Regions from separate parts of the Homo sapiens genome. Here regions 2, 3, 4, 5, 6 and 7 are each linked to region 1. Evidence: promoter capture Hi-C in 16 types of primary human blood cells and fetal thymus (Javierre and others, 2016). All regions are on one chromosome and are shown on one strand. The core of a region is centred on a gene start or on the middle of the fragment in contact, and the rest is flanking DNA. Distances in the headings are between cores, read along the strand shown.

Evidence for each region. Contacts are between HindIII fragments. The CHiCAGO score rates a contact against its expected background, and 5 or more counts as called.
Region 2: a fragment that was not itself captured here is called in contact with the fragment with the promoter of EIF1B in region 1 in 11 of 17 cell types (total CD8 T cells, total B cells, total CD4 T cells and 8 more); the score reaches 17.2 in total CD8 T cells.
Region 3: a fragment that was not itself captured here is called in contact with the fragment with the promoter of EIF1B in region 1 in 1 of 17 cell types (total B cells); the score reaches 6.5 in total B cells.
Region 4: a contact is called between a fragment that was not itself captured here and the fragment with the promoter of EIF1B in region 1, in 1 of 17 cell types (neutrophils). The highest score is 5.0, in neutrophils.
Region 5: a contact is called between a fragment that was not itself captured here and the fragment with the promoter of EIF1B in region 1, in 8 of 17 cell types (neutrophils, total CD8 T cells, activated CD4 T cells and 5 more). The highest score is 11.4, in neutrophils.
Region 6: a fragment that was not itself captured here is called in contact with the fragment with the promoter of EIF1B in region 1 in 7 of 17 cell types (naive CD4 T cells, total CD8 T cells, activated CD4 T cells and 4 more); the score reaches 8.2 in naive CD4 T cells.
Region 7: a fragment that was not itself captured here is called in contact with the fragment with the promoter of EIF1B in region 1 in 1 of 17 cell types (activated CD4 T cells); the score reaches 8.7 in activated CD4 T cells.

Annotation. Positions count from the first base shown.
Region 1 is chr3:40,307,295-40,311,703 of GRCh38, reverse strand. EIF1B (eukaryotic translation initiation factor 1B) reads right to left here and starts at 1,997. Exons shown (of 4, transcript NM_005875.3): 1 at 1,732-1,997; 2 at 648-811; 3 at 133-234. The coding sequence starts at 1,762. EIF1B-AS1 (EIF1B antisense RNA 1) reads left to right here and starts at 2,006. Exons shown (of 3, transcript NR_033965.1): 1 at 2,006-2,381. LOC124906228 (a long non-coding RNA gene) reads left to right here and starts at 2,893. Exons shown (of 2, transcript XR_007095876.1): 1 at 2,893-4,409. RefSeq lists a silencer at 1,587-1,636 and an enhancer at 1,907-2,266. The HindIII fragment of the contact is 2,965 bases long and covers 661-3,625 here.
Region 2 is chr3:42,079,603-42,084,011 of GRCh38, reverse strand. It overlaps a transcript of TRAK1 not described here. Among named protein-coding and RNA genes, the nearest start is that of TRAK1, 9.6 kb to the left of the region's middle. The HindIII fragment of the contact is 181 bases long and covers 2,433-2,613 here.
Region 3 is chr3:42,060,390-42,064,798 of GRCh38, reverse strand. It overlaps a transcript of TRAK1 not described here. Among named protein-coding and RNA genes, the nearest start is that of TRAK1, 29 kb to the left of the region's middle. RefSeq lists a silencer at 2,797-3,016. The HindIII fragment of the contact is 5,018 bases long and covers 121-4,409 here.
Region 4 is chr3:42,037,571-42,041,979 of GRCh38, reverse strand. It overlaps a transcript of TRAK1 not described here. Among named protein-coding and RNA genes, the nearest start is that of TRAK1, 52 kb to the left of the region's middle. The HindIII fragment of the contact is 5,750 bases long and covers 1-4,409 here.
Region 5 is chr3:42,022,078-42,026,486 of GRCh38, reverse strand. It overlaps a transcript of TRAK1 not described here. Among named protein-coding and RNA genes, the nearest start is that of ULK4, 62 kb to the right of the region's middle. RefSeq lists an enhancer at 1,231-2,149. The HindIII fragment of the contact is 5,804 bases long and covers 1-4,409 here.
Region 6 is chr3:41,940,947-41,945,355 of GRCh38, reverse strand. All of the region lies in intron 2 of ULK4 (unc-51 like kinase 4), which reads left to right. Among named protein-coding and RNA genes, the nearest start is that of ULK4, 19 kb to the left of the region's middle. The HindIII fragment of the contact is 6,777 bases long and covers 1-4,409 here.
Region 7 is chr3:41,909,322-41,913,730 of GRCh38, reverse strand. It overlaps ULK4 (unc-51 like kinase 4), which reads left to right. Exons shown (of 37, transcript NM_017886.4): 9 at 832-924; 10 at 2,072-2,190; 11 at 2,345-2,414. Among named protein-coding and RNA genes, the nearest start is that of ULK4, 51 kb to the left of the region's middle. The HindIII fragment of the contact is 2,165 bases long and covers 878-3,042 here.

The DNA.
Region 1 (4,409 bases), core at 748-3,247:
TACCATGTCTTTATTTCACCTAATTTCCTTCATTCGTATGATTTTTTACTTAGTAGAAAACAAATCATGTTGCCTTTAAATACAATTTTAAAAGCAATCTCAAGGTTACACATAAAGCACCCAATCACTCACCTCCAAGAGAAACTGGCAGATGTTTTTTCTTTGGTCACCTTGAAGCTGAATAACCTCTCCGTATTCAGGATGTTCAATCACAGTACCATTACAGGCAAATTTCTGGAAAAGTGCATAAATATACAACAAAATTTAGTCAACTACTATGAGGTTTTATTTCACCGTATGAACAGAATTAGCCATTTCAGTAAGCTAGATCATATTTAGAGAAACAGATTTTGTCTCCTATAATCCACAATCCTTCCAAATTAATTTGTAAACCAGGAAATGATTTTATGTGTAACATCAAGAACTAAATATTTCACATTTAAATTTATTTAAAAGCAACGCGAATCTTCTTTTAAAATGAGAGACCACACTGGGAGAATAACTAAATATTTACATGTTAATTACAAAAATGAGAACAACTTTCTTGGTCTAGTTATTTTCATCCACGCCGATATAAAGGTGTGAATCATAATCCAGTTCAGAGGTGTGCATCAGTAACTCTAATCCTTTCTTCCTAATCCCTTTACCTTTTTGAAAGCTTTCACAAGTTTCTTTTTGTCATAATCATCTGCAATGCCCTGAACAGTAGTCAGTGTCTTTCTGCCGTTCCGTTGCTGGATTCTTATATGAATGTAATCCTCAGTCCCTGCCGGGAGTAAGTCGTCACCCTTAGTTGCATCAGCAAAGGGGTCTGCGAATGGATAAAAAAAAAAAAAAAATCCAAAGTAGAAAAATATTTTTTAAGAAGTACTTTCCAGAAATACATTATACTACCAATCCAGACAGTCATCAATGAAGGTTCTAGTGCCTTTGCTGTTTTTGCCGGTAGGAATGGAGATGGGGGTGGAGTATTAATAAAACCCCCAAGATACTCTCACAAAAAGAGAAACATTTGAACAGCTATGTCCATTGTAGAAAAACGCTGTTATAGATAAATAATGTTATCGTTCAATATGGTCCTCTAATGAGAAAAAGATTTAGAAAACCTTAATATTGTAGCCGCTATAAAAATGTGCGTCATCTCGATTACATTCTGATGAAAACATAAACATTCGAATACGCCCACCTTAATCATTTAACCGTAACTGTGCCTTGCCAAAAAAAAAGTAGATTACATATATATCAAGAGGCGTAATTTAACAAATTGCTACGCAAGCAGAGAAGACTGAACCACTGGCCAGTGACAGATCAGAGGCTTGCATCCGCATCTTTCCCTAAGTGCCCCCAGGAGCTGCCAGAGAACGGGCGCCGATCCCTGGTTTCCCTGGCCCGGCATACCCTTTGCAAGTAGCAGGGCCGATCTAGGAGTCCACGAAATAGGATCGCCAAGGTTTCAAGGGGCAGAAGCGGAGGCGAGAGCCGGGTCAAGGACGGGGCAGGGGGTGGCGCAGGGCCCGCGGCCGGGGCTCCGAGAGGAGGGCTCGGAGTCCGGCGCTGTCCTCGGGGAAGGGGTCGCCAGGGGCCCCGTCGCCATTTTCTGGGCGCCGAGACAAAGCCCCACTAGGGGTGCGGGAAGGGCAGAAAGGGGGCCCCTAGGGGCGGTGGCCAGGCGGGCAAAAGGCCGAGATGCGCGCCGGGCAAGGGAGGGAGGCGGCGGCGACGGGATCTTACCGAAAGATTGGAGGTTCTGGATAGTGGACATGCGATACTAGTGTGAGGCCGGTGAGGGGATAAAATTCCTGCGGGGCCCGCCCGGATCACCTTGTCAGGAGGCTGTAGTGGCGAGAAAACGGAAATAAATAAGAAAACGCTTCGCCCTGGGGTTGGGATTAGGCTGGAGTGGCGGCGGCGGAAGCCGGGAGGAGGCAGGAAGAGGCGAAGGAGGAGGCGGAGGAAGAGGCGAGGGCGCGAGAGAAGAGGCGGCGCTGCGGCTTCTCGCACAAAATGGCCGATGGAGACTATTTAGCCGCGCCCGCGGCCCCTCCCACGTGACCGTCCCGCGCCGAGCATCCTGGGACTTGTAGTTTTCTGGAGGCAGCAGAGCCCGGAAAGCCTGAGGCCGGGGGCGGCCGAGACCGCAATTCCCGTCACGGAGTGCGTCCTCTAGCGCGGGGCGGAAGACCCGCGAAGTGTTCAAGCGGCCGCAGAGCGGCCCAGAGTTCGCAGGTCTGGGGCTCTCTTCCCAGAGAGCTCGTAGGGGAGGACAGTCAAGGGACTCAAGCGTCTCTCTTGACTCCCCTTCTCTCGCTGTGCAGTGGCGGCGCCGAGGGGTCGACGCTCAGGGCTAATCTCTATGAGTCACCCTCGAGGCCCCGGGTAATGTAAGTAAAATCGGGGTGCAGGAACAAAACAAGTCCCCTTGCTCCGGCTTTCAACTCATTGGCCCCCGCTCAGCAACTACCTGCATTGAAATTCCAACCCCAGTTGCAGGAGCGGTGTTAGTCTCAACCAATACTGGAGATGGGAGCCTCTCTTTCCAGGATTGGACGGACCTCCGATTCCCTAGCACGGTGGATCTCAGACTAAAGCGTGTGTCTCTGGAGGGCTTGAGAAAACACTGATAGACCCCAGAGTTTCTGTTTCAGGAAGTCTAGGGTGTGACCTGAAAATCTGCAATTCTCATAAGCTCCTTGGTGATGCTGATCCTGCCTGCTGGTCTGGGATCAGGCTTGAGAATCACTGCCCAGCTTAATCCTGGGCCTGGCATCGAGTGGGGGCCAGGTGTGTATGAACAGAAGATACCAGAAAATCAGCTTGTCAGCTCATTTTGTGTGCCTCAGAAGGCCCAACAGAGAATTCAGGAAAGATGCCAGGTATAAGCTGAAGGTGAGCTCAGCAAATAGGTTAATTGATGGAGTCATGTACCAGACCGTAATATCTTCCTATCAGGTCACGCACAGAAAAATAAACCCGAGACTTTGGGAATTGGCTCACTCAGGCAGGTGTGTTCAATTGTCAAACTTGGTTGGCTTTCTGGAAGCAAAGAGATAGACTAAAATTTAGGGATTCTTAACTTTTTTGTGTGTGCCATGGCAATCCTGTGAAGCTGCTGAATCCCTTCTCAGAATAATGAGAAGTTAAGTTTTAAGTTCACAAAGTACATAGGATTACAAAGGAAACCAATTATATTGAAATTTAAAAAATACATTAATAACGTGTATTTCTTTATTAATACACTAATAAGATCTAGCAAGATTAGGTCTAATACTATAATTTCAAAAAGCTGATAAATGTAAGAGATATTTTGTGATGTCCGTAACATCAGAAATTTAATATGAAAGTATGTGTAACTTCTGTTGGTGCGAAGTGACAGGTCCTTCTATCACTATGATGTTGCCTTTATTCATAATGGAAAGAAATGGTAAATTTTGCTTAGAGGTTAATGAAAATGCAGATATAATCTTTCCCCATCCAATTTTAGGGATCTCCACCCCTGCAGTTTTATCCATGAGCCAAGGATCTGCAGACCGCAGGTTAAGAATACCTGGATTTGACAATCTTTTGTAATTAACAATGATGATAAGTGCCATTTATTTAGTACTTACTGTTTGCCTGTTACAAAGCTTATATATAACATTATTAATCTTCATAGCTATTTTATAAGGTAAGCATTACTCTATGCACCAGGTGTGGAAATGAAGGCTTTTGTAGGTTAATGCCTGAAAAAAAAATCAAATTCTTAACTCTCAGAAATCTAACCACATTTGTGGTCTTCCAGCTCTGGTTCAAATGGAAAACACTCTTCGTATCCCAAATTGAGGTGTAAAGTTTAGAGCTGGCTCCAAAACAAGGAGCATCAAAATATCTAAATAAGTGTGCTTTAAAGTAATTTTATTAGTTCAATTTTGTGCCCTATGTTAATACTCTAACACTCTAATTTCTAAATAATTTGTAATCTAGATAATGCATCTCTATTTGTTTCCTTTCTTTCTTAGTAGATGTACATGAGTATTTTATATTACTTTATTTCTCAGAAGAAGCCAAAGGTGATCCAGTGAAGAAAAAACTACAAACACAGAGAAATTAAAAGAAAAATTCCAGAAATCTTAGGGTTTCATGGTCATTACCCCTGTCAGGAGAACTCACTTTTCTTAGATTTAGTGTTTGCATCAGAAACCTTCAGGAGTGAGAAAAAAAAAAAAAAAGAAAGAAAAAAGAAACCCCCAGGAGCTCAGAAATCTTTAATCAAAGCCAATATGAATACAGATTAGATACAGTTGTGGTTCTTAAGGCTCTTCTAACTCTCATGATTCATAGTCTTTGTGTTTAGACCTGCAGTGTCCAGTACAGAAACCACTAGCCACATGTGGCCATTGAGTACTTGCAGTATAGCTGATTTAAATTGGGAT
Region 2 (4,409 bases), core at 1,274-3,773, 1.8 Mb before region 1:
AAAATTTTAAATTCCAAAGATTTAGATAAAAATCTGACAAACATTAAAAAGGTATCCCCACATCTCTACATGCCGTACCAGTAGGATAATTCCTCAGAATTTATTTATTTATTTTATTTATTTTATTTATTTATTTTTTTAAAGACAGGGTCTCATTCCCATCACCCAGGCTGGAGTGCAGTGGCACAATCACAGCTCACCGCAGCCTTGACCTCCCGGGCTCAGGTGATCCTCCCACCTTAGCCTGTAGCTGAGACTACAGGCGCACACCACCATACCCGGCTAATTTTTGTATTTTTAGTAGAGATGAGGTTTCACCATGTTGCCCATGCTGGTATGGAACTACTGGACTCAAGTGATCCACCTGCCTTGGCCTCCCAAAGTGCTGGGATTAAAGGTGTGAGCCACAGCACCCAGCCAGTTCCTCAGAAATTTAAGTGAAAGATAGTCACATAAGACTTCTATACCCAATTAAGCTACTGTTATACACAAAAACAATTGGCAGATATTTAGAAACTCAAAGACCCTGATGGTCCTGAGGGGATCCAAGTCTGCTGATGACACCTCATGGGCTCTCACTAACACAGGTCACCATAAAGAACTCAAAAGGTGAGGAAGACATGGTAAAGTAAAACTGGCAGGGAAATTAAACCGGGAACACTTAAAATCAACATGTAAATAATGCACTTCATTCACAGACCTAAAGCAGATAGCCCAAAAGAAAAATGGGCAAAGGATATAAAAATTCCCTCCCCCTGCCAAAACACAACACACATACACACCCAGTTTAAGGAAACTTCACAGTGATTTTAAAAAAACAACAACAAAGATTTAAAAAATATAACGATGCTCAAGTTCACAAGTGATTTAGGAAACTTATAGTCTTATGTATTACTGGAATAAGGCGAGGAGTATACATTTGGAAGAACAGCCTGACAAAATTTACTGTAGCTCTCGGGCTCAAGTATATATAGGTCAAAGATGTATGGCACAGTGAAATGCTACAACCTAACAAGCCACAACAGAGGATCGAGTCATTAATTATGCGACAGCTATCAACAAGTCAACCAAGCCAAGAGGAAGCATCACAACAGATATTAATGTATCAACATAGAAAGATGCTGTAGGCAGAAAAACAGTAGATGATGAATGTGGTCTTGAAAAGGTTTTAAAATGCATTAACAAATTGAACCCTCATTCAAGCCTTCTTTAACTTGTACTTAGACATATTCTATCTGATCCATACACAGAAGTTGGAAATACTTTCTCACTTTGCAAAATGCAATTGTTCTTCTGAAAACTAAGACAGTTTCATTTAAATCAATATGATTTTGGTTTTTTGTGTTTTTTTTTTTAACAAAGGCTCTAATATGTAAAGATTTCTCTGGTTTTTGTTTGTTTGTTTGTTTGTTTTTTGAGACAGGTTTTGTGCTCTGTCTCCCAGGCTGGAGTGCAGTGGCGCGATCTCGGCTCACTGAAGCCTTGGCCTCCTAGGTTCAAGCAATTCTGCCTCAGTCTCCCAAGTAGCTGAGACTACAGGCACGCACCACTACGCTAGGCTAATTTTTTATTTTTGATAAAGACGGGGTTTCACCATGTTGGCCAGGCTGGTCTCAAACTCCTGGCCTCAAGTGATCCACCCACCTCAGCCTCCCAAGGTGCTGGGATTACAGGCGTGAGCTGCCAGGCCTGGCCCTAATATGTGAAGATTTCTTAAAGAGGTTTTACAACCAAGCTTTATATAACTTTCGCTTTCACTACCTATAAAATGAGGGAGATGGCCTAAATCATGATCAATAGCCCTAAATCACTACTGTTTCTCCTCCTAGTATCGATGTTTCCATTTATAGCTGCCAGACACTTAACCCAGAAACATACTGCTACAAAAGAAATATTTTAAGTATAAGCACTTCCTGAAAAAAACAAAATTTGGAGACATCAGCAAATGCTCACCTCACTCAAGACTCAAAAGGGAAACACAAGCCACAGTTCTGAAATCCAAAGAACATTTTACATGTACAGCAACTGGCAAAGCTATTCAGAAGCCTGAGAGGCCCCTCTTGAAATGACAAAACTAAGCTTTCACCCAGTAAATTCAAGTGGAAAACAACCAAATTTCTATTCGTAGAAAAACAGTTATAAATTATGGCACATCCAAACTACTGAATTCTGTAAAATGTAAGGCACTTATCCATATAAGGCACTTACCTCTGTGTCTAGTACAAATTAGATTCTCAAAATAATTACTGTCATTAACATTATAATTTCCAGATTCTCAGAATCTGGCACCTTTCTTGGTTCTACTATAGTATTCATATGCCAGCATTTCCAAACCTACTTTACTATGGATCCTTTCTCCACATACCTATCTACATGGCATTTGTTTCATGGAGTACATTTTGGGGAATGCCTCTCTATCTCAGACACAAGCTTCATGCATTGTCCATTGACCACCATTTGTCCAGGGCTGATCTCCCCCAAAAAATTGTGTGCTCCTTGAAAGCATGGACCGGTGTTGGCACATATTAGGTACTAAGTAAATGTCTGTAGAATAAATAACAACAAATGAAAGAAGGGGTTTGGTGCAAATGACTCTGAGGATCCCCTGAAGCTTTAAAGCCCAGGTTCTATCATTTATACTGGAACCAAAGGGTCTAAACTCCCAAATTTCACACTGCTAACCTTGAGGACTAACAGAAATCAATGAAAACCACCTGAGGGACTCCTAAGTGTTCCAAGTATGCAGACCACAGCCCATGGGCTCTCTAGGCTGGCTCGAGTTTAACCTTACTTCATTTTCAACACAGACCAATATACATCAAATGTGGCTCACAGTGGCCAGGCCCAGTGGCTCACACCATAATCCTAGCACTTTGGGAGGCCCAGGCGGGTGGATGGCCTGAGCCCAGGAGTTCAAGAGCAGCCTGGGCAACATGGTGGAACCCTAACTCTACAAAAAAATACAAAAAATTGACCAGGATTGGTGGCATGTGTCTGTGGTCCCTGCTACTAGGGAGGTTGAGGTGGGAGGACCACCTGAACCCAGGAAGTTGAGGCTGTAGAGAGCCATGATTGTGCCACTCCACCCCAGCCTGGGTGACACAGTGAGATCCTATCTCAAAAAAAAAGAGTAGTTTAATAGTCAAACATGTAAAATGACCCAGATACAATTCAAGGATCAGGAGACCTCATTTACAGACTACTCAAAAGCTGGTTTGTAAGGCCTCCACCCACTTTCTAGCTTGAAGAATGAGTCACAGCATGTGCCCTCTGGGGACACCCAGGAATTTGTAGGGCAAAGGTGACAATCTTTCCCCAAGGTGCCAGCCTAACTTCACTCTAATGTAAACAGGCATTTCTGAGGTTTCACAGGGGCTCAGGAACAAAGCATCCACTGCCCTGGATGTTCTCTGGCTCCAGCAAACCCTGGCACACCAGGCAAAAGGCTTCTTTCAGGCAGAGGAAACAAACAAGGCTTAAGAAAAGTGAGAGTGGATGGCATGGCCCTGAGAGATGAAAGCGCCTCTGTTTAGTTTACTGAATTCTGCCTAGAGAGCTGCAGGAAGGCAGGATTTTTCTTAGCAGAGGAGTGAGAAATTCTGCAACCAGGTCAATTTTTCAGCAAAAGAGGTGCCAGGAATAGTAGTAGGATAAAGTATACATGGAAGCTGAGCCTGGGGTGGGTGGCCCAGGTCCCCTGCCCCACTCTTCTCAACTCAATGATCAACAATTCCGGCCCCCAGTTTGTCAAGAGTACTTAACGCACGGTTGTTCAACGTTATGCCAGTTTGCTACTGAACTCAAATTTGCTGACAAAATACACGTGTGCAAGTTCCTAATATTTTCTCCCCGCTACCCTCAACCGATGTCATTTCTGTGACTCAGAACCTTAACTAAAACTCAAAGCTGTGTGACACTGAGGAAACTGTGTTATGTCCCTGGGCCTCAGACCCCTCATCTGGACAAGGAAGGGATCGAGCAACCTTCAACACACTGCCTTCCAGCTATACCACTCCAGGAAGTACAAAAGAGGGCAGGTGGAAATGCAGAAGGATTTGTGCACCCTGGTAAGTCCTTCTCCACTCCCTGGTGCAATGATTGTGAAACTATTCTCACCCACACACAGGTAACTTCCAGTAGGAGATCACGAGCAGACAGAGCTGCCCTTTGTAAACAATAAATCACTGATTTTGCAAGGGGTTAAAAAAACAACAAAAAAAAAGGAGCTTCCAGCAGGGCGCAGTGGCTCACGCCTGTAATCCTAGCACTTTAGGAGGCCGAGGAGGGCGGATCACCTGAGGTCAGGAGTTTGAGACCAGCCTGACCTACATGGCAAAACCCCATCTCTACTAAAGATACAAAAAAATTGCCAGGCATGGTGGTGAGCGCCTGTAGTCCCAGCTACTCGG
Region 3 (4,409 bases), core at 1,380-3,879, 1.8 Mb before region 1:
TTACAGGTGTGAGCCACCATGCCTGGCATGTATTTTTTAAGTATAGCTACTTAACCCATTAAAAATATACCCTTACTATTCTATGGTAAAATTAATTCACAAATCATTATGAGAAAAGCTTTTCATATCAGGAAGTCTAGCACAAATATTTTAACTTCAGTATTTTAGGAAACAGTCTATAGTCTGCTTAAAGTATTTATTATGTATTTGTATTTCCATAATAAGTTCATAATGAAGCAACATTCATTCTATGCTATTAGTCTAGGATCACATGGTAGCTTCCTAGATTCTAGGTGATAATATTTTAGAGTTCTTAGAAATTACATTTGGGTAACTCAGACAGCAAGTTCAAAAATTTATTTTATTTCTTAATCTTCCAACATTGACATCAGACTGTAAGAGAATTCTTTTTAAAGGTTTTTTTTTTTAATTTGTATCCCTCTATTTATTTATTCATTTGAGACCGGGTTATAAGACTGGCTAATTTTTGTATTTTTGGTAGAGACAGGGTCTTGCTACGTTGCCCAGGCTGGTCTCAAACCCCTGGGCTCAAGGGATCCACCCACCTAGGCTTGAAATGTGCTGGGATTACAGGCTTGAGCCACAGCGCCCGCCTGGCTGCGAGCATTCGCATTTTTGTGATGTATCATTACCACCCAATACAGAAGGCATTTGTGATCTCCCTCAGGTCAGATAGTAATAAGGGCTGGGCATGTAAAATGGGTTCCCTCCCATCTCTAGTGCTCTGAAAGGGATGACTGGGCCTCTCTCTCACGTGGATATAATTTCCACATGGCCACCAGGGCTTCTCACATGCTGGCTGGATCCCAAGAAGGGGTGTTCAAAGTATGAGACAGAAATTACAGATCTCTTTAGACTCAATTTTAAAAGTTACACAGTGTCACTTCTACCGCAAACTATTGGTCAAAATACATCACCGGGCCAACGCAGATTCAAGGGGAAAGGTTACAGACTCTACATCTGGATGGGAGTATGGTAAGAACTTTCAGCCCACCACAGGGCCAGAGAGCAGACAATAAGGCACAGCTGGGCTGCCCCGGCACATATGCTTTTTTCACTGTGTGGCTCCCACCACTTTTTTTTTTTTTTTTGGAGACAGAGTCTCACTCTGTCACCAAGGCTGGAATGCAGTGGCACAATCTCAGCTCACTGCAACCTCTGTCTCCCAGGCTCAAGCAATCATCCCACCTCAGCCTCCCAAGGAGACGGGGCTACAGGCGTGTCCCACCAGGCCTGGCTAGTTTTTGTAATTTTTGTAGAGACAGGGTTTTGCCATGTTGTCTAGGCTGGTCTCAAACTCCTGATCTCAACTGATTTGCCCGCCTCAGCCTCCCAAAGTGCTGGGATTACAGGCACAAGCCACCACACCCAGCCCCACCTTTACAAAAGAGCAAGAACTGCATCACAAAGGCATTCCTGGTTGGGCAGGGGCAGTGGGGAATGTACTGACAGACAAAACCCGGATGCTCCTTCAGCAATGGCTTAGGGCAGGGCTTGGCAAACTTTTCCCGCGAAGCGGAAAATAATAACTATTTCAGGCCTTGAGGGCAATACAGTCTCCGTTGCAATTCCGCAGTTGTAGCTGGAAGGCAGTCAGAAAATATGGAAATGAATGGGTGTGGCTGTATTCCAATAAAACTTTATTTATAACAGCAGGCGGTGGGATGGATTTGACCCATGGTCTGTGAGAATAAGCACTGGATTTGGTACTGGAAAACCAGGCCTGGAATTCTGACTTTACTACTCACTACCAGTGTGACCTTGTTTGAGTTTCTTAAAATTTCTGAAGCACGTCCTCCATATCTCAAAAACAGGGATAATGTCATCCATCTCCTAAGGTGGCTCTGGGGAGTGAGGTAATACAGGTGAAAGTGCAGTGCACATCCCCTCATAAGACAAACACGCCTTCACTGCAGTGCAGAGCCTGGAAAACAGCTCAAGGGGCTGTAGGGAAGTCCCACCAGGCAGGACACAAGGGAGTGTCAGGCACTGTTTTCCAACAAAGTGAAGACTTCACTGATGAGAATTATATTAGGCAGCAGCAGCCTAAATAGTCTTTGTTAAAGACCTATCCTTGTTTTGCTTTTTCTCAACAGCATAATACTTTGTTTTAAGGCATACAGATAGCGCTGACACAACCTATTTCACAAACCCTATTTCACACAGAGTAGCATGCATGGTCAGTGAAAAGGAAAATAAAAACCACCAACATGAAGAAGCCTCAGAGGTGCCAGGACTCAAATACAAAGTTTTTCAGAGGGGTAGCAGTATAGTCATGCTGTATTTAAGCTGGTTTTGTAGATTCTGAAATGTTAAAAAATAGTCTCCAAGACAAGCATATTTTTTAATGCTAAAAGTATAACTGGAATTATTAAACATGTGAATGCAAACTTGATTTTTTTTGAAATTGGCCCTAGTAGGAAAAAAAATATTCAAAATTAAGACCTATCCTTAGCCAAAGGAATCAAAAGCACTGAAGCATTTTGTTTGCACCTCCGCTAATACGGCACTCCTTTATAATACCAGTAGTTCACCAAGAGATTGAGAGTTTCACAAGAGTAACAGGCAGCACTGTACTCCTGCTTTTGGAAAATTCCACTTCATCCACAGGAAAGTGGACATGTTAGAAGGTGAGTGACTTGTCCATTGTCAAAATCTTGTCTGCTGTAGGATTCCTGCCACACATATGAGCAGGATCTCTCTCAGCCATGACTCCTCTTGCAATTTCAATGTCCCCTTCTCCCAAATGGGCAGCCTTAGCCAGAAGCAGCTGTCCCAGAGCCTCCACCCGAGACAGCTGCATTCTGGAGGGATGGCGTCAGCAATAGCCTAGAAGGGCGTGGTTTCCCTCCTGAGCCCCAGAGTGAGTGCCAATGGCTGTCATCATTTGAATTGAATATCCGTTTCCAAAATAACCTGGACCATTTCCAAGGCAAAGTACTACTGAATAAAGCTCAAATCCATGCAGATGGGTAGATGGATGGGCTTGTTGCTCCTGATTCATTAGTTAATAAACTGGTATATATTGTTGGTGTTCTGATTCATAAATTAGATGGGAAAGAAGTGAGATGACTTAGCATAACACAAGCCAAAGTGAACATTCCCAAATTCTCTTGTATTTGTACTTGCACGGAATGGAATTCTCACATGATGGCTGGGATTTCTATATTAAGTGTCTCAGGCCAATCTTCTACTAAATAAAGTTCAAGTGGCACTGGGTTCACATGATATTCAGAGCTCTGTAGCAGCTGATTGTTTTCCCCGTATCTCCTGCTTTGGAACTTCAGCTTCAAAGTAGCTCCTTGCCTGCTTTTGCCATGGCCAGGGTCCACTCTGTATCCAGGAGGTGTAAATATGATGAGCTATGAAAAGGCTGACAGACAACAGGGCTGCCTCCCTGGCACTGTGTGTGTGTGTGTGGGTGTGCGTGGGGGGGTGGGGTGTGCATGGGGGGGTGTGCGTGGGGGAGGTGTGCATGGGGGGGTGCGTGTGTGGGTGGGTGTGTGCATGCACGCATGCACAGATGTAGACACACACCCATCACTTGAAAACTTAAGGTCAATGGTTACGTAAGATGTTAACATTAGAGGAAGCTGGGTCAAGGGTGTATGGGAACTCTGCACACTTTTTGTAACTTTTCTATAAATCTAAAATTATACCATAACAAAGAACTTTTTAAAATGCACTTTTAAGTCAGCTTCCAGGCCTGAAGCATACCATTTAGGTTTTCACAGGGTCCTTCAGCATAAGTCATTAAGTCCCTTGGAGGGTCAGTTTATTTAGCCCTAAATGAACCTGATGAGATCCCCAAAAAACTGCAAAACAAACAAACAACAACAACAAAAAAGGCCGGGCGCGGTGGCTCATGCCTGTAATCCCAGCATTTTAGGCGGCCAAGGTGAGCAGATCAACTGAGGTCAGGAGTTCGAGACCAGCCTGGCCAACATGGCGAAACTCCGTTTCTACTAAAAATATAAAAAAAATCAGCCAGGAGTGGTGGCGGGCACATGCAATCCCAGTTACTCAGGAGGCTGAGGCAGGAGAATGACTTGAACCAGGAAGGCGGAGGTTGCAGTGCGTAGAGATCGCACCACTGCACTCCAGCCTGGACAACAAGAGCAAAACTCCGTCTCAAAAAAAAAAAAAAAAAAAGCAGCCAAAAATGACCTGACAAACAGGTGTGATATTAATATGACAACATTCACATTAAGGCTTGTTCCCAATGACAGACTGAGACTATAAACCAGTGAGACTGCTAAGGGACCACGCCTGGAAAAAGAGGCACTCCTCTACCGTTACATTACTCTCCTGTCCCACAGTTTCAAAGCTGCCCCGTCTCTCCTCCCTGCTCCTCAGAACCCAGAGGTCTTGGTATCTGCTATTCCCTC
Region 4 (4,409 bases), core at 479-2,978, 1.7 Mb before region 1:
TCTCTACTAAAAATACAAAAGTAGCTGGGTGTGGTGACACGTGCCTGCAATCCCAGACTCAGGAGGCTAAGGCAGGAGAATCGCTTGAACCCGGGAGGCGGAGGCTGCGGTGAGCCAAGATCGCGCCACTGCACTCCAGCCTGGGCGGCAGAGCGAGACTCCGTCTCAAAAAGAAAAGAAAAGAAAAAAAAAAACAATAGAAATAGAAGGGAACTTCCTCAACCCAATACAGTGTATCTATCAAAGACCCACTGCTAATATCAAACTTAACAGTGAAAGATTCAATATTTTGCCCCTATGATCAGGAGGGCATCCACTCTTACGACTCCTATTCAACATCGTACTGGAAATTCTAGCCAGAGCAATTAGAAAAAAAAAAAAAGGGCCCTCATATTGAGGAGGAAGAATTAAAGCTACCACCATTTGTACATGACATTATCTTACAAATAGAAAGTCCTAAGGAACCCGCTAAAAAACTATTAGAACAAATACACAAATTCAGCAAGGTTGCAAGATATAAGATCAACATACCAAATCAGTCGTATTTTTATACACTAGCAATAAACATTCCAAAAATGAAATTAAGAAAATTATTCCATTTATAATAACATCAAAAGGAATAAAATACTTAGGTATAAATTCAACAAAAGAAGTAAAAGATTTGTAAACCTAAAACCACAAACAATGTGGAAAGAAATGAAAAAATGTCTAAATAAATGGGAAAACATCCCATGATCAGGTATTGGAAGGCTTAATATTGTTAAGATGTCAATACTCCTGAAATTGATCTACAGATTCAATGCAACTCCTACCAAAATCCCAGCCGTTTTTTTTTTTTTTTAAGCATAAATTAACTAGCTGGTCTTAAAATTCATGTGGAAATGTAAGGAAACTAGAATAGCCAAAATAATCTTGGGGAAAAAAAAAACAACAACAAAGTTGGAGGACTCACACTGTCTAATTTCAAAACCTACTACACAGTTACAGTAACCAACACAGTGTGGCTGGGCGCAGTGGCTCACACCTCTAATCCAGCACTTTGAGAGGCCAAGGCGGGCAGATCACTTGAGGTCAGGAGTTCGAGATCAACCTGGCCAACATGGTGAAACCCCGTCTCTACTAAAAATACAAAAATTAGCCAGGCATGGTGGTGCACACCTGTAGTCCTAGCTACCCAGGAGGCTGAGGCAGGAGAACTGCTTGAACCTGGGAGGTGGAGGTTGCAGTGAGCCGAGATCCGTGCCACTGCGCTTCTAGCCTGGGTGACAGAGTGAGACTCCGTCTCAAAAAAAAAAAAAAGGTGTAGTACTGGCATAGGATATACAGATCAGTGAACTAGAACTAAGGGCCCAGAAATAAGAGCCCAGATAAATAAACCCTTACATTTATGGTCATTTGATTTTCAATAAGGCAACTCAATATGGAAAGAACAGTCTTTTCAACGAATGGTACTAGTACAATCAGATATCCATATGTAAAACAATAAAGTTGTACCTTCACCTCACAGAACAAAGTTGGACCCCTCCCTCACAAAAATTAACTCAAAATGTATCACAAACCTGAATATAAGAGCTAAAACTATAACATTCTTAGAACAGAAAAGAGTAATAGACCAACTCTGGGCAAAATGCCTATGAGTTAGCCCTGCTCTGCAAGGAGCAGTTATATAATTAATCAATTAATTAATAAATAAATAGTAGCAACTCTTGGTGACCTTAAGGTAGGCAATGATATTTCTTAGATATGACACCAAAAGCACACGTGACCAAAAATAAATAAATAAGACTTCATTAAAATTAAAAATGTTGTGCTGTAAATGATACCATCAAAAAAGTGAAAGACAATCCATGGAAGAAAATATATGCAAATCCTATATCTGATAAAGGACTTGTATCCAGAATATATAAAGAACTCTCACAATTTAAAAAAAAAATAGGCAAAGGACCTGAATAGACATTTCTCCAAAGATATACAAATGGCCAATAAGCACATGAAAAGATGCTCAACATCATCAGCCGTCCTGAAATGCAAAACCACAATGAGATAGCCCTTCATACCCACTAGGATGCCTATAATCAAACATATGAACAGTAACAAATTTTGGCAAGGATCTAGGGAGAATGAAACCATAATACACTGCTGGTGGAAATGTAAAATGGTGCAGACACATAGGAAAACAGTCTGGCAGTCCCTCTATGACCAACAATTTTGTCCTAGATATATACTCTAGCAAAATGAAAACATGTTATACATCCACACAAAAACCTGTACGCAATGTTCACAGCATTATTTATAAGATAATAAATAATAAGTGGTTGGCTGGCACATTGGCTCACGCCTGTAATCCCAACACTTTGGGAGGCCAAAGTGGGAGGATCACTTGAGGTCAGGAGTTTGAGACCAGCCTGGCCAATATGGCGAAACCCTGTCTCTACTAAAAATACAAAAATTAGCTGGGCATGTTGGTGTGCACCTGCAGTCCCAGCTACTTGGAAGGCTGAGGCAGGAGAATCACTTGATCCCAGGAGGCGGAAGTTGCAGTAAGCTGAGATCACGCCATTGCACTCCAGCCTGGGTGACAGAACGAGACTCCATTTCAAGAAATAAATAAATAATAAGTGGAAACAACCCAAACATCCATCAACTAACTGATGAATGGAAAATAAAATGTGGTATATCCATATGACAGATTAATATTTGGAAATAAACAGAAATGAAGAATTGCTACATGCTACAACATGGGCAACACTTAAAAACACTATGCCAAGTGAAAGAAGCCAAACACAAAAGACCACATATTATATGATTCCGTTTACATGAAATGTCCAAAATAGGCATATCCAGGGACAGAAAACAGATTAGAGATTGCTTAGGGCTGGGAAATGGAGGGAGGGAGGATTGACTATTGACTGCTAATGAGAATGGGATTATGTTTTACGTGGGATAAAATGTTCTAAAATAATATTGTGATCACAGTTGTACAACCCTATGGTATATTAAAAATCACTAATTGGATGAACTGTAAGGTATATGAATTAATCTCAAGGCTGATTTTTAAAAAATCAATCCCAACACTTCGGGAGGCCAAGGCAGGAAGACTGCTTGAGTCCAGGAGTTTGAGACCAACCTGGGCAACATAGGGAGACTGTCTCTACCAAAAAAAAAAAAAAAAAAAACTTTTTTTTTTTTTTTGAGATGAAGTCTCACTCTGTCACCCAGGCTGGCGTGCAATGGCGCAATCTCACCTCACTGCAACCTCTGCCTCCCGGATTCAAGCAATTCTCCTGCCTCAGCCTCCCAAGTAGCTGGGATTACAGGCGCCCGCCACCACGCCCGGCAAATTCTTTTGTATTTTTAGTAGAGATGGGATTTCACCATGTTGGCCAGGCTGGTCTCGAACTCCTGAGCTCAGGTGATCCACCCGCCTTGGCCTCCCAAAGTGCTGGGATTACAGGCGCGAGCCACTGTGCCTGGCCGCTACAAAAAATTTTTAAAAATAACCGGCCAGGTGTTGTGGCACACACCTGTGGTCCCAGCTGAGGTGGGAGGATCACTTGAGCCAGAGAGGTTGAGGTTACAGTAAGCTGTGATCACACCACTGCACTCCAACCTGGACAACGGAGTGAGAACCTGCCTCAAAAAAACACCAATATCTCCTTGCTATTTTGGGCTAGAGAAATTCAATTCAATTCAGTATTCCTGACCCTATCCCAACACCCTTGCACCTAGAAAAGAGATGAATTTAAAAGATTTTAAAGCCACCACCATGCTGTAAACTTCTGGGACGTCTCTGACCCACTGCCTCCCTTTCCATTTGAGGTCCTGCATTAGAGAAGGCAACTGACCTCTCTGAGCCAAATCTCTATCAGGCAAGTGGCTGACAATGTTATAATCCTGTCTTTCACTTAAACATGGTCCAGCAGCTTCAGGGTAGCATCCCTTTGAATGACCTCTCAAGAATCTAGGACTGATGGTATCTTTTAAACATCACACCACACACAACTCATATCAGGAAAAAGGAGAGGCTATCTGGACTCGAACCCCTCACCCAGCCACCTGACCTCTAATGGATTTCCCAGGCTCCACTCCGGGGTCACTGGAAGGATGGAACACTATACTGCTATCATCCACACAAACACTCACTAAATGTTATTTGTTGTCATCATTAAGAAAGGAGAGGCATATGACTAAACCTGCTCTTAGAGACAGAAAGACATGATTCCAATTTTGCTCCAGTTGTTTCCTCTAGCACACACTCTCCAGACACAGGTCACGAGACTTCCTCCACCTGGGTACCTTTTCTTTAGCCCTTGGCAAGTTCTCCCAAACTCCTGGCTAAGCCAAAGCTCTTATGTTAGTCATCTGAGAACAGTGGTCTCTGCCACAGAAACTGTCAGAGTTACAATTTG
Region 5 (4,409 bases), core at 1,294-3,793, 1.7 Mb before region 1:
ACAGCTGCAGAAGAGGTGATTAGCCAAACAAACAACACACAAATTGGTATGTAAAAATAATCGGTGCCCTGGCTAGCTTATCAGTCCATTGAGGTAAAAGCGATCCTGTACAAAAACTACCACTGTGCCAGAGGAGTGAAGAGGCAGCAAGCTAACCACGCAATTCAAAACAGGCTCTTGTCAAAAAAATTCTCTAGTATATGATCACCCTGAGACTTACCCACATTTCTTATACTTTCTATGAAATGCTAAGGCTCACTTTTAATCTAAAATAGACAAACTTTCTTCATGTGCCTCTGAGTCCTCTTCTAGTTTCACAAAGGATTAAATAAAAAGGGCCTCAAAGGACAAAAGAAGGAAGTATAGAAAGGAGGGATGGAGGGAGAGACAGGGAGAATGAGAATACAGAAAAATAGAGGAAAGCAAGAAAGAGACAGAGGGAGAAAGATAAACGGAGAAAGAAGAAAGAACAAACAGCAGAGAGAGAAACAAAGAAACAGAGACAGAGGAAGAAAGAAAAGAAAAAAGTTCATGGGAAAAAAATAGTGATGCATTTCATGGAAAAGCTATTTGTTAAAGAGTCCCTCTTTTTTCTGTGTACAGTATCATGCCATATGTGGGAAGTGAACAAGGCTGGAACACCGCCTAAGAACATCTGCCACGGACTTTAAAAGCCCTAATAATAGCACAGCTGGTGTCCCCAGCCTAATGAGCTCACCACCCACGTGACTGCTCCTTCTCCAGCAGATTCTCCAGAGAGAGAAGGCAGCCAGCAAGAGAAGCAGTCCCCGCCCCCGCCCTCCCCCACATTCATGCTTTATTTCCTCCACGGCTTTCATTCTCCCCTTCCAGAAACCACCCCTTCTCATTTTCTTGAGCTAAGTTACCCTGATCCAGCAGTCCTTTGAACAGACACATTCTTCTTTTCTCCTTCCCCTCTCCCTTTGAACAGACACATTCTTAACATGAAAGGCAAATACCAGAAATAAAATATGGGGACATCACTACAGGTCTTATGGACATTGAAAGAGTAATAATTGTGCCAATTAATTCAGTAGCTTAGATAAAGTGGATAAAGCCCTTAAAATACACAACTTATCAAAATTAATGTAAGAAGATATAAATAACCCTATACTTATTTTTAAAATGGAATTCCAAATGAAAAATTTTCTACACCACAACGAAAGGCCAGCGTGCCCCAGCGTGCCTCGTTGCCAGGGTCTGAGGTACAGGCCCCTCCAGGAGTGCTGGTCTGGGAAGTTATGTCTGACAGGAAGACTCTCCCCCTGACCAAGGCATATTGCTAGGAGGAAACCAAGCACAGCAGAAAGCGGGGCAGGGAGGACGTAAACAAAGAAGTTAGGTTTTTACAAGGTTGGCAAGTTTTAACCCCCTCTGGTATAATCTTTTGAAACTAATTCCCATCACGGTATGCTTTTAAAAGCTCTCTAGCATTTTAAGAAACTGCAACTTAGCATCAGGAAGGGAAAGAATTTCAGCTTCTAAGGGGAAGCCTAGCAGAAAGTGACAAGAGGAGACTCACGTTGGCACTGATGTGGTATCCCTAGCAATTGGAAGAGAAGCTGAAAAATCTGGGATCTCTCACTCTCAGTCCAGGGCAACACATCCTGACAGCCAGGAAGAGTCAAATGGCTATGGTAAGACGTATGGGGTTTATTCACCAGAAAAAGACAAAGAACGCCACATTTCAAAACTCAGGCTTGGTAACACAATAGCATGGGTGTGTATGCAAGCATGAAGTACTGAAGCTAACAAATTACTAGATTCTATCCCTGTCTAGCAAGTACTTATTTCAATAGCAATCATATGATTAGCTGAAAGTGGGCAATCATTAACTTCATCTACTGTTAAACAGTTACACACAAAAACATGGTGCTTTATATCTTGTTAATATCATGAATAAGTTATGTAACCCTTGACAGTGTTCTGTTTTGATTTAAAATACCAATGCTATTGCTGCCATAAGTTAAACACTGCAAAATTATAAAACTTCAAAGATAATTACAGCATTTTAAGGACTATCATAAATACTTTTATGCAACTGCGATGTTTACAAGGCTAAGCCAGCATCTCTTCTGAAAAACAAAGAACCAAATGATACAACTAGAAATATCTGCATACCTACTATGTATAAACAAACCCAAAAGATATTTTAGCTTCTATCTCACTTGGCCTCTCACAGCAGAGTAACCCTGTGAACCCTACCCTTCACCAAAAGAACACTCCCTCCCCCAGCAATTCTGGTCTTCTCCCAATCTCTAGTCACTACTCCTCTGTGAGTTCTCCTACACATGGATATCACTACACAGGAATGGTCCCCAAACCCTTGCCTCAAACTCCTATCCCTCTTCGAAGTGTCAGGCCCAGACGTCCCACTGCCCTAAACATCTCCACTTAGAAATCTCAGGAGTAGCCGGTCACGGTGGCTCACGCCTGTAATCCCAGCACTTTGGGGGGCCAAGGAGGGCGAATCACCTGAGGTCAGGAATTCGAGACCAGCCTGGCCAACATGGCGAAACCCCATCCCTACTAAAAATATAAAAATTAGCCAGGCGTGGTGGCAGGCGCCTGTAATCCCCAGATACTCGGGAGGCTGAGGCAGGAGAATTGCTTGAACCCGGGAGACGGAGGCTGCAGTGAGCCAAGACTGTGCCACTGCACTCCAGCCTGGACAATAGAGTGAGATTCCGTCTCAAAAAAAAAAAAAAAAAAAAAAAAAAACCCTCACGAGCACGTCAAACTCAGCACATTCAAAACAAGACCCTCCAGGTCCTCACCGCTGGGACAACTGATTAATGGTGGTCCAACTCAGAAACCTCAGCCTTATCCTTCACTCCGCCCCCTCCCTTACCCTACCACTATCTCTTCAACAACAAAGGCTTATCTCTTAAACATCTACCCACACTATCACTCGCTAACCCCCACCCTCTCTCACCTTGAGTACAGCCAGAGCTTCCAGCTGGGTCTCAGTCATCATGGAGGTAAGATAAGGTCTAGGATCACATACGGCCTAGGACACGTTTACCAAAGTAAAGCCAGCCACCACTCCTAATGCCACCCAACCCTGCCATGGGCCTTCTCTTTGGAACATCTACAGACTGCATCTCTTTTCCGCCCTAGTGACCTAATGTGGATGCAACTTGAGTTTGTGAGGGAAATTCTCAAACTTGCTTGTGATGATCAATCTGCCATGCTGCCTTTTGCCAAACAGAGAATTCAGTATACTATAAAGAACAAAAACTACATTAAAAGATAGCCAAACTCCCAGGAATATTTATTTTCTTTTTGTTGTTTTTTTTTTTTTTTTTGAGATGCAGTCTCGCTCTGTCGCCCAGGCTGGAGTGTAGTGGCGCAATCTCGGCTCACTGCAACCTCTGCCTCCCGTGTTCACGCCATTCTCCTGCCTCAGCCTCCTGAGTAGCTGGGACTACAGGTGCCCACCACCACGTCCAGCTAATTTTTTGTATTTTTAGTGGAGACAGGGTTTCACCGTGTTAGCCAGGATCGTCTCCAACTCCTGACCTCGTGATCCGCCAGCCTCAGCCTCCCAAAGTGCTGGGATTACAGGTGTGAGCCACTGCGCCTGGCCAGGAATATTTATTTTCTTTATTCCTTTCCATGAGTATCACTTCTACTATACCATCAAGAGACTTACCCCAGCTAAAAGTTTTGCAAGTTAACACTCAATTGTTGTGAAAATATTCCTCTTGTACAAAAGTTTTTTGTTTTTGTTTTTTTTTTTTTAAAACAGGGTCTCTTTCCATTGCCTAGGCCGGAGTACAATGGTGTAATCATGGCTCACTGCAACCTCTGCCTCCTGGGCTCAAGCGATCCTTCTGCTTCAACTTCCCAGACAGCTGGGACTACTGGGGCACACCACCATGCCCAGCTAATTTTAGTACGTTTTGTAGAGATGGGGTTTCACCATATTGCCCAGGCTGGTCTCCAACTCTTGGGCTAAAGCAATCCACCCGCCTTGGCCTCCCAAAGTGCTGGCATTACAGGCGTGAGCTGCTACACCCGGCCAGTTATTTAACAAGACTAACTACTTTCCTATCTTTCAAATACAGTATAAAACATCTACTGCAGCAGTCAACGTTTTAGTCTATTTTACCAATGATTTGCCTGTCACACCTTTTATCCACTGCTGTAATAATAACAATCTGCTTGTTTTCTCAAATAGAAAGATGTTTTCCCAAATATATAACACCAAACTATGTTTCTTCCACAAGAGACCTTTGGAATGTCTTGATATTCGAATCCAAAGCAATTCTTCTAATGCCTTGGGACCACTGAAAAATTAACCCTTTCTCCTCAAAGTCAAAGCAGAGAAGCTAGTTGATGGGTGAGCAAAAACCACAGCTCACATCAATGCTTTAGGCCATGGG
Region 6 (4,409 bases), core at 645-3,144, 1.6 Mb before region 1:
TCTAGGTGGGATTGTGATTAAATTAATTAGATGCACTAGAAGGACATTTGGATTCCAAACTGATGTAAGTGGTAAAGGCCCCAAGGCATCCATCCATTTGCCGGCACATCTTGAGGCAGAGGCAGTATGGTTTGGATGTGGTGGCTTCCTACTGGTGGCAGAGGCAGCACTTTGGTGCTGACAGCTGTGATAGCTGTGATGGCAGAGTCTTGATTCCTTAATGTTCTGATGGAGACAGGGGCCAGTGCTCCTCTGGCGGCTCAGTTTTATGGTGTGGTTTTGGGAATTCTTTCCAGAAATTGAGCCTAGATTCTGTTTCAGGAACTTCCCATAATCAATTCTGGAATTATGTAGGCCCCTTAGAAGTCCTTTTGTTAGCCAGAATATATTCTGTTCTCTGTAACTAAAAATATTGGCCAAATCATGGGATGTCATAGAGGTCAAATAACGTCAGTGGTATATGGTGATGAGAGAAACCACTTGTGTGAGATGCTGCTAATAAGGTGAGGACTGAGGATTTGGCAATGGAGAGGCCACTGATAACCTTGAAGAGAGTGGTTTCAGAAAGTGGTGGGGATGAAAGCTGGAACTGAAATATGTTTAAGGGGGAGTGAGCCGGGCTTACTGGCTCATTCCTGTAATCCTGGTGTTTTGGGAGGCTGAGGTGGGAGGATTGCTTGAGGCCAGGAGTTTGAAACCAGCCTGGGCAACATAGCAAGACCCTATCTCTACAAAAATAAATAAGTACACTTCTTATAAAAAGAGGGAGTGGGAGAAGGTAGAGGCCATCCTTAAGGAGTTTTGCTGTATCAAGGAGCAGAGAAATGGGATGATAACTGGATGGAGACAGGAGGTTGAGATGGAAAGAATTATCAGGAGTTACTTCTGACTCCTGACATCTGAAATTACGTTTTTTTAGACAGGATCTCACTCTGTAGCCCAGACTGGAGTACAGTGGCATGATTTCAGCTCACTGCAACCTCCACCTCTTGGATTCAGGCAATTCTCCTGCCTCATCCTCCCGTGAAATTACACGTCTTAAAGCAGGTGGTTTATTTTCTCTCATGTAAAGGAAACTGCACTTGCAAACTGATTCTACCATGTCATCAATTCCCTGTCATTCTTCTCTGCTATCCTTATTGAACTTGGCTTATGTGCAAGGCCATTTCACAGTTGCTGGATGGCCACTGTCACTTTAGTTATCATGTCAGCTTTCCAGGGAGGAAGGGGAAGAAAGAGGGTGCCACGGGGTTACGTTGAATAAACCCCATTAAGTGTTTTCCAGGAAACCTGAGCTACTGACCCTGTTAACATCTTGTTGGTGTCCCCTTTCTGGGCAGGAGGGGCGGAAATCTTTTTCTGGACAGGCACAAGGCTGTTCTGTCATAGAGGAATTCTGTTATTAAAGATTTAGGTAAGCAGCTAGCAGCTTTTCCATAAGGATAATAATTTCAGCATGTTTGTATGCTGATGGAAATGGTCTATTAGCAAGGGAAAAATACTCAGCATAATGTGGCGAGGAGACAGTTGTATAATGTAAGTGAAGTTTGAGGGGGGTTGGGATCATGTATACAAGGGGAGGTTTTGGCTTTTGGAAGGAGCATGGATAGTTGAGGTAAGGCAGGGTATGGTACAAGATGCAAGTTGGTGGATTCCATGCCAGGAGCCTGAGAAAGTTCTCTTCTGTTTGGTTCTATCTTCCCTGAAATAAGCAAAGTCATCAGTTAGGAGGTAGGAGAGGAGAGGAAAGAGGAGGTGTGAATGGTCACTTGAAAAGCAGGTTGTCTTGGGCCATTTGAGATTTGTGATCATAAATTTAAAGTAAATCAGGCAGCATGGTTTGTTTCTGCTTTACCTGCTTGAGTAGCTGCAGAGTATGTGGAGGGTTGGTTGAGTTTAACCAGAATTGGAATGGTTGTGGGAGCGGGCTGGAAAGTGCGTGTATATGGTCACAGGCTAGGATGTGTAACAGAGATTTTGGTGGTAATGCAGTTTTAGTAAAAGTCTAGCAACACCATCTAATAAAAATATAATGGGGGCCACAAATCTAATTTTGAATTTTTTAGTAGCCACATTGAAAAATGAAAAACAAATGGGTGAAATTAACTTTGGTAATATATTTCTTTCTTTTTTTTTTTTTTTTGAGATGGAGTCTCGCTCTGTCGCCCAGGCTGGAGTGCGGTGGCACGATCTTGGCTCACTGCAAGCTCCGCCTGCCGGGTTCACGCCATTCTGCTGCCTCAGCCTCCCGAGTAGCTGGGACTACAGGTGCCCACCACCATGCCCGGCTAATTTTTTGTATTTTTAGTAGAGATGGGGTTTCACCATATTAGCCAGGATGGTCTTGATCTCCTTACCTCGTGATCCACCCGCCTCGGCCTCCCAAAGTGCTGGGATTACAGGCCTGAGCCACCGTGCCCAGCCTAACTTTGGTAATATATTTCTAAAGCCAGTATACACAATGTATGATCACTTCAACATATAATTGGTTAAAACTATTTATTTATTTAATTTAATGAAATTAATTAATTTATTTTTTGAGATGGAGTTTCACTCTTGTTGCCCAGACTGGAGTGCAATGGCACCATCTTGGCTCACTGCAGCCTCACCTCCCGGGTTCAAGCGATTCTCCTGCCTCAGCCTCCTGAGTAGCTGGGGTTACAGGCATGCGCCTCCATGCCCAGCTAATTTTGTAGTTTTAGTAGAGATGGGGTTTCTCCATGTTGGTCAGGCTGGTTTTGAACTCCTGACCTCAGGTGATCCACCTGCCTTGGCCTCCCAAAGTGCTGGCATTACAGGCGTGAGCCACCGCGCCCGGCCTATTTATTTATTTTTTTGAGATGAAGTCTTAATCTGCCACCCAGGCTGGAGTGCAATGGCGTGATCTAGGCTCACTGCAACCTCTGCCTTCTGGGTTCAAGTGATTCTGCTGCCTCAGACCCCTGAGTTCCTGGAATTTCAGGCATGCACCACCATGCCTGCCTAATTTTTGTATTTTTTATAGAGATAGGGTTTCATCATGTTGGCCAGGCTGGTCTTAAACTTCTGACCTCAAGTCATACGCCCACCTTGGCCTCCCAAAGTGTTGGGTTTACAGGTGTTAGCCACTGCACCTGGCTGGTAAAAACTATTATTGAGATATTATTATTTTTTGGTATGAAGTCTTCAGAATACTGTGTGTATTTCACATCTGTAGCACATCCCAGTTCAGACAAGCCACTTTTCGAGTTCTCAGTAGCCCTGTGTGGCACATCGCTCCCACATTGAACACCGCAGGTCTGTGGAGTAACCGTGGATAGGTGGTTGAGGTGAAGGTGGAGGGCAGGACTTTGAGAGGCAGTTTGGCCCAGCATTTGGAAGAGTAGGCGTGGGGCGTATGTTGAATGATGAGGAGTGCTGGAAGGAATTGCTGGGGCCCAGATTCTGTTGGTGATTCTGTTGGAATTGCCATGCTCCCTTTATTTTTCATCAGGACCTCCCCCTTCCTGTGCCTGAATCAGTGGGAGTCCTTAAACATGGTCACCAGGTGGTCTTCCTTATTCTTTGGTGGCTTATTAGTTTTACAGTTTCTTTCTCTTTTTTTTTTTTTTTTTTTTTTTTGAGACAGAGTCTCACTCTGTCACTCAGGCTGGAGTGCAGTGATGTGATCACGGCTCACTGTGCCTTGACTTCCCGGGCTCAATGGATCCTCCTGCCGCAGCCTCCCTAGTAGCTGGGACCACAGGCATGTGCCACCATGCCTGGCTAATTTTTTAATTTTAGTTTTGTAGTTTCTTACAAGTTGCTCCTTAAATTTTCTCTTGGTCGCTCTGCTTTTTGCTTTTTAACTCCTCTGTCGTCTAAGTTATGTGGATCCATTTTCCTCTAATTGTGCTACGGTATGAGCCCACCTAGTTGTTCACAGAGTGTTTCATTTTTAAAATGGGGAGCTCTGCATATATGGGCTCATTTGTTTGTGTTAAGTGGTAGTAGAGTTTGGATGTGACTTTAAAAAAAAAGGTTTTTTTTTTTTTTTTCAAGCTGGGCACAGTGACTCATGCCTGTAATCCCAGCACTTTGGGAGGCTGAGGTGGGAGGATCGTTTGAACCCAGGAGTTCAAGACCAACTTGGGCAACAAAGTGAGACCTTGTCTCTACAAAAAATCAAAAAAGTCAGCCGAATGTAGTGGTGCAAGCCTGTGGTCCCCACTACTCTGGAGGCTGAGAGAGGAGGAGGATCCCTTGAGCCCAGTAGATGAAGGCTGCAGTGAGCCATGACTGTGCCACTGTGCTCCAGCCTGGGTATAGAGTGAGACCTTGTTTCAAAAAAAAAAAAAAAAGGTTAAGAACAGGATTGAAAGCACTTTGGTAGTTGTCAGCAATTTTGGATCTTGATGGTTTGCTAGTAATGCACACATTTTTGTGGTCTT
Region 7 (4,409 bases), core at 711-3,210, 1.6 Mb before region 1:
TTGGCCTCCCAAAATGCTGGGATTACAGGTGTGAGCCACTACACCTGGGCTGATATTCTTATTTATTCCTGAATGAATTTCCAACAGAATAGTTCCAAAACTTAAATGTGTCAGTTAGGGTAAGTAAAATAATCTTGCCTCTGTTGTGAAATAAAGGATGACAGGATTATAGATATCTGATATATTTACTTTAGAATTTCAAATTACGCTGAGCACGGTGGCTCACGCCAGTAATCCCAGCACTTTGGGAGGCGGAGGCGGGTGGATCACGAGGTGAGGAGATCGAGACCACCCTGGATAACACGGTGAAATCCCGTCTCTACTAAAAATACAAAAAATTATCCAGGCGTGGTGGCGGACGCCTGTAGTCCCAGCCACTCGGGAGGCTGAGGCAGGAGAATGGCGTGAACCCGGGAGGCAGAGTTTGCAGTGAGCCGAGATCGCGCCACTGCACTCCAGCCTGGGTGACAGAGCCAGCCTCCGTCTCAAAAAAAAAAAAAAAAAAAAAAGAATTTCAAATTATTTATCGACTCCGTTTTTCCTAGGCTGGTTGGAGAAACCAGACTCTATGGAATTTGAACCCTGAAACTTCTAATGCTTAGTTATCAGACTGTTTCATTCTGTACCATTTAATGCTTCTGAATTGTTTCTTTTTATCTTGCTGTCTAAAAGAGGTTAATAGCATACAAAAATGAAATAATAAAATATAAAATGATTTCAAAGGTACATGTGTACCTTGTAAAATCTGCTATGTGTAATTGGGACATGTCTTGGGAATTTTTCATGGTAAATCATGTTAAAGTAGAGTTTTAACATTTATGTTTTTTAAAGATTGACTTGGACAAGGCTACTGCAGCATTCATTTTGGAAGAAAGCTTTTGCTGGAGCAGATCAGGAATCAAGCGTCGAAGATCTCAGTCTCAGGTAGTATACACTTACCTTTGTGTATGGGACATAGTTACTGGACACTTAAGCCCATTACTGTTCTAAATATACAACATCAATGACTGGAATTTCTCTGCTTTCGTAGTAGGAGAAAATCCAGCGTTTGTTTAATTAAGGGTTGCTTGAGGAGTTTACTCATGATATTTTTATGTTCTTGATTTTGCATATTTTCTGTTGTTATTCTTCAGTCATTGATATAATATGATAGTCATTAGTTCTGTTACCAAATACATCTGGCTTCCCACCTCCCAAGTAAATGGTAGGATCTTTTTTCTCCTCTTTATGTTAGGTGTGGTCATGTGACTTGTTTCTGGTAACAAAATGTTAGTAAAAGCAATGTGTGTTATTCCCAGATGCAAAGTTGAAGAGCAGTGGTAATTTACTACATGATGAGGTAATTGGGAAGAAAAATGTCAAAATGGAGTTCCAACCTGGATTTTTTTTTTTTTTTTTTTTTGAGACAACGTCTCACTCTGTCACCTAGGCAGGAGTGTAGTGGTACAATCATGGTGCATTGCAGCCTTGACCTCCCTGGGCTCAGGTGATCCTCCTACCTCAGATTCCTGGGTAGCTGAGACTATAGGTGTGTGCCACTACACTCAGCTATTTATTGTATTTTTAGTAGAGACAGGGTTTCACCATGTTGCCCAGGCTGGTTTCAAACTCCTGGCCTCAAGCGATTTGCCCGCTGTGGCCTCCCAAAGTGTTAGGATTATAGGCGTGAGCCACCATGCCTGGTCTGTCAGCCTGGATCTTTTTTTTTTTTAAATTAAAAAAAATTGTTAAAAACAAAAAAGTAGAGACAAGGTCTCACTATGTTGCCCAGGCTGGTCTCAAACTCCTGAGTTCAAGTGATCCGTCTGCCTCGGCCTCCCAAAGTGCGGGGATTACAGGTGTGTACCACCACGCCTGGCCTTAGCCTGGATCTTGAGGGACTACAGTGACGTAGCTTTCCTGCCGGTCTTTGATGGCTATGTGGATGAGGGAGGCATAAAGTTAAGAGATTCTGTAACTTTGCTAAATGTCATGTGTAATTTAATTATCTTCTCCAACCTCTTTTTCTCTAACATAAAACTATAGAGAACTCCAAAGTAAGTTTGATTGTGTTGGTTTTCTCCAATAATAGCAGAAACACTATGGAGTGTTCTGGGCCACAAGATTCCAAGGAGCTTTTGCAGAACTCTCAGAGTAGACAAGCAAAAGGGCACAAGAGTGGTCAACCACTAGGTCACTCTTTCAGACTAGGTAAGTTTTATTTGAGCACATTCATGCTACTTAGAATGTTGTTTGAGAGAGTTCCTAATTTCAGTGTTATGTCCCTTTAAATCTTTGTGTACGTTATGCCTTGCATATGATATTTTTGTTCTTTTCTGGATAACATATTACTTTCCTGCTACAGAAAATCCAACTGAGTTTCGGCCTAAGAGTACTCTTGAGGGTCAATTGAATGAATCCATGTTTCTTCTCAGGTAGGTAAAATGAAAAAAGAGGGATCAGTGCAAGACAAAAGTTAAATTTTCTTAAAGCATCTGCTATCTTGGTGCAAACTTTGTTACACAGAGATAAAGAACAGGAATTTTAGTGCCAAATGCCAGTTTCACTCTCCAATTTCAAAGTTACAGTTAGGTCGTGGCCAGTGAAATGTAGATTTTGCTATGTACAGGATTTTTGAAAATTTTTAACCAAACCAACTTATTTTTTTACCAAAGCAACTCATTATTTCCATTTGTAAGAATTAATGCCTCTTCATTTTGTTCTTTAACTTAAAATAGAATTGAACTTAAAATTTCAGAAGTCCAGCTTGTTTGGTTTGTTTTGTTTTTGAGACAAGATCTCCGTCTATTGCCCAGGCTGGAGTGCAGTGGCGTGATTTTGGTTCATTGTAACCTCTGCCTCCTGGATTCAAGTGATCTTGCCACTTTAGCCTCTCAAGTAGCTATGACTACAGGTGTGTGCCACCATGCCTGGCTAATTTTTTTGTAGAGATGGTGTTTTGCCGTGTTGCTCAGGCTGGTCTCAAACTCCTGGGTTTGAGCCATCTGCCTGCCAATGCACCCAGTTTTTGTTGTTGTTGTTAATGCTTTGAAGGCAAAAGCTTCTTTATTTGGATAAATACTTACAGAAAAGAAGAGGTTCTGTTTTTCTTTAAATACTTTTTTATTCTTTCATTTATTTTTATTTTATTTTTTTGAGATGGAGTCTTGTTCTGTTGTCCAGGCTAGAGTGCAGTGGTGCGATCTTGGCTCACTGCAGCCTCCACCTCCCAGGTTCAGGCAATTCTCCTGCCTCAGCCTCCCGAGAGTAGCTGGGACTACAGGGGCCCACCACCTCGCCTGGCTAATTTTTGTATTTTTAGTAGAGACAGGATTTTGCCATGTTGGCCAGGCTTGTCTTGAACTCCTGACCTTAGGTGATCCACCAGGCCTCCCAGAGTGCTGCGATTACACACATGAGCCACAGTGCCCAGCCTTTCTTTTAATACTTTTCTATATGTGAGGCTTGAATAATGTTTGTAATCACTGAAAGAATTAAAGTCAGAGTGGTATCTTAAAGTAATTAGGACCAATGCATTAAAAAATTTTGTAGTATGGACCGGGCTCAGTAGCTCACGCCTGTAATCCCAGCACTTTGGGAGGCCAAGGCAGGCGGATCACCTGAGGTCAGGAGACTGAGACAAGCCTGGACAACATGGCGAAAACCCGTCTCTGCTAAGAAAAAAAAATTAGCTGGACGTGCTGGTGGGTGTCTGTAATCCCAGCTACTTAGGAGGCTGAGGCAGGAGGATCACTTGAACCCGGGTGGTGGAGGTTGCAATGAGCTGAGATCGCGCCATCGCGCTCCAGCCTGGGGGACAAGAGCGAAACACCGTCTCAAAAAAAAAAATTTAGTAGTATGTAAATATTTAAAGTATTTAAAATATTTTTTAACGTAGAGAAATAGTTTTATTTCATGAAATAGTGGTTATAATGATAAAATTCCTGATATGTTTTACCCATATTTAAATGTAATGTATGTTTATCTATATACATTTTACACATTTTATTTATTATTTATTTATTTATATATTTTTTGAGACAGACTCTTGCTCTGTCGCCCAGGCTGGAGTGCAGTGGCATGATCTCGGCCTACTGCAGCCTCCACCTCCCTGGTTCAAGCGATTCTCATGTCTCAGCCTCCCAAGTGGTTGGGATTACAGGCCTGTGCCACCAAGCTTGGCTAATTTTTTTTTGTATTTTTAGTAGAGATGGAGTTTCTCCGAGTTGCCCAGCTGGCCTCGAACTCCTGAGCTCAGGTGATCTGCCTGTCTTGGCCTCTCAAAGTGCTGAGAATTACAGGCATGAGCCACAGTGCCTGCCCCATTTTATACATTTTAAATTTAACTTTTTAGAACCTCCTAGATTTTCTGGTATATTGTATTTTATGTGCTATGTAAGTATATGTTTAATGAGGGGATCAACAGATAA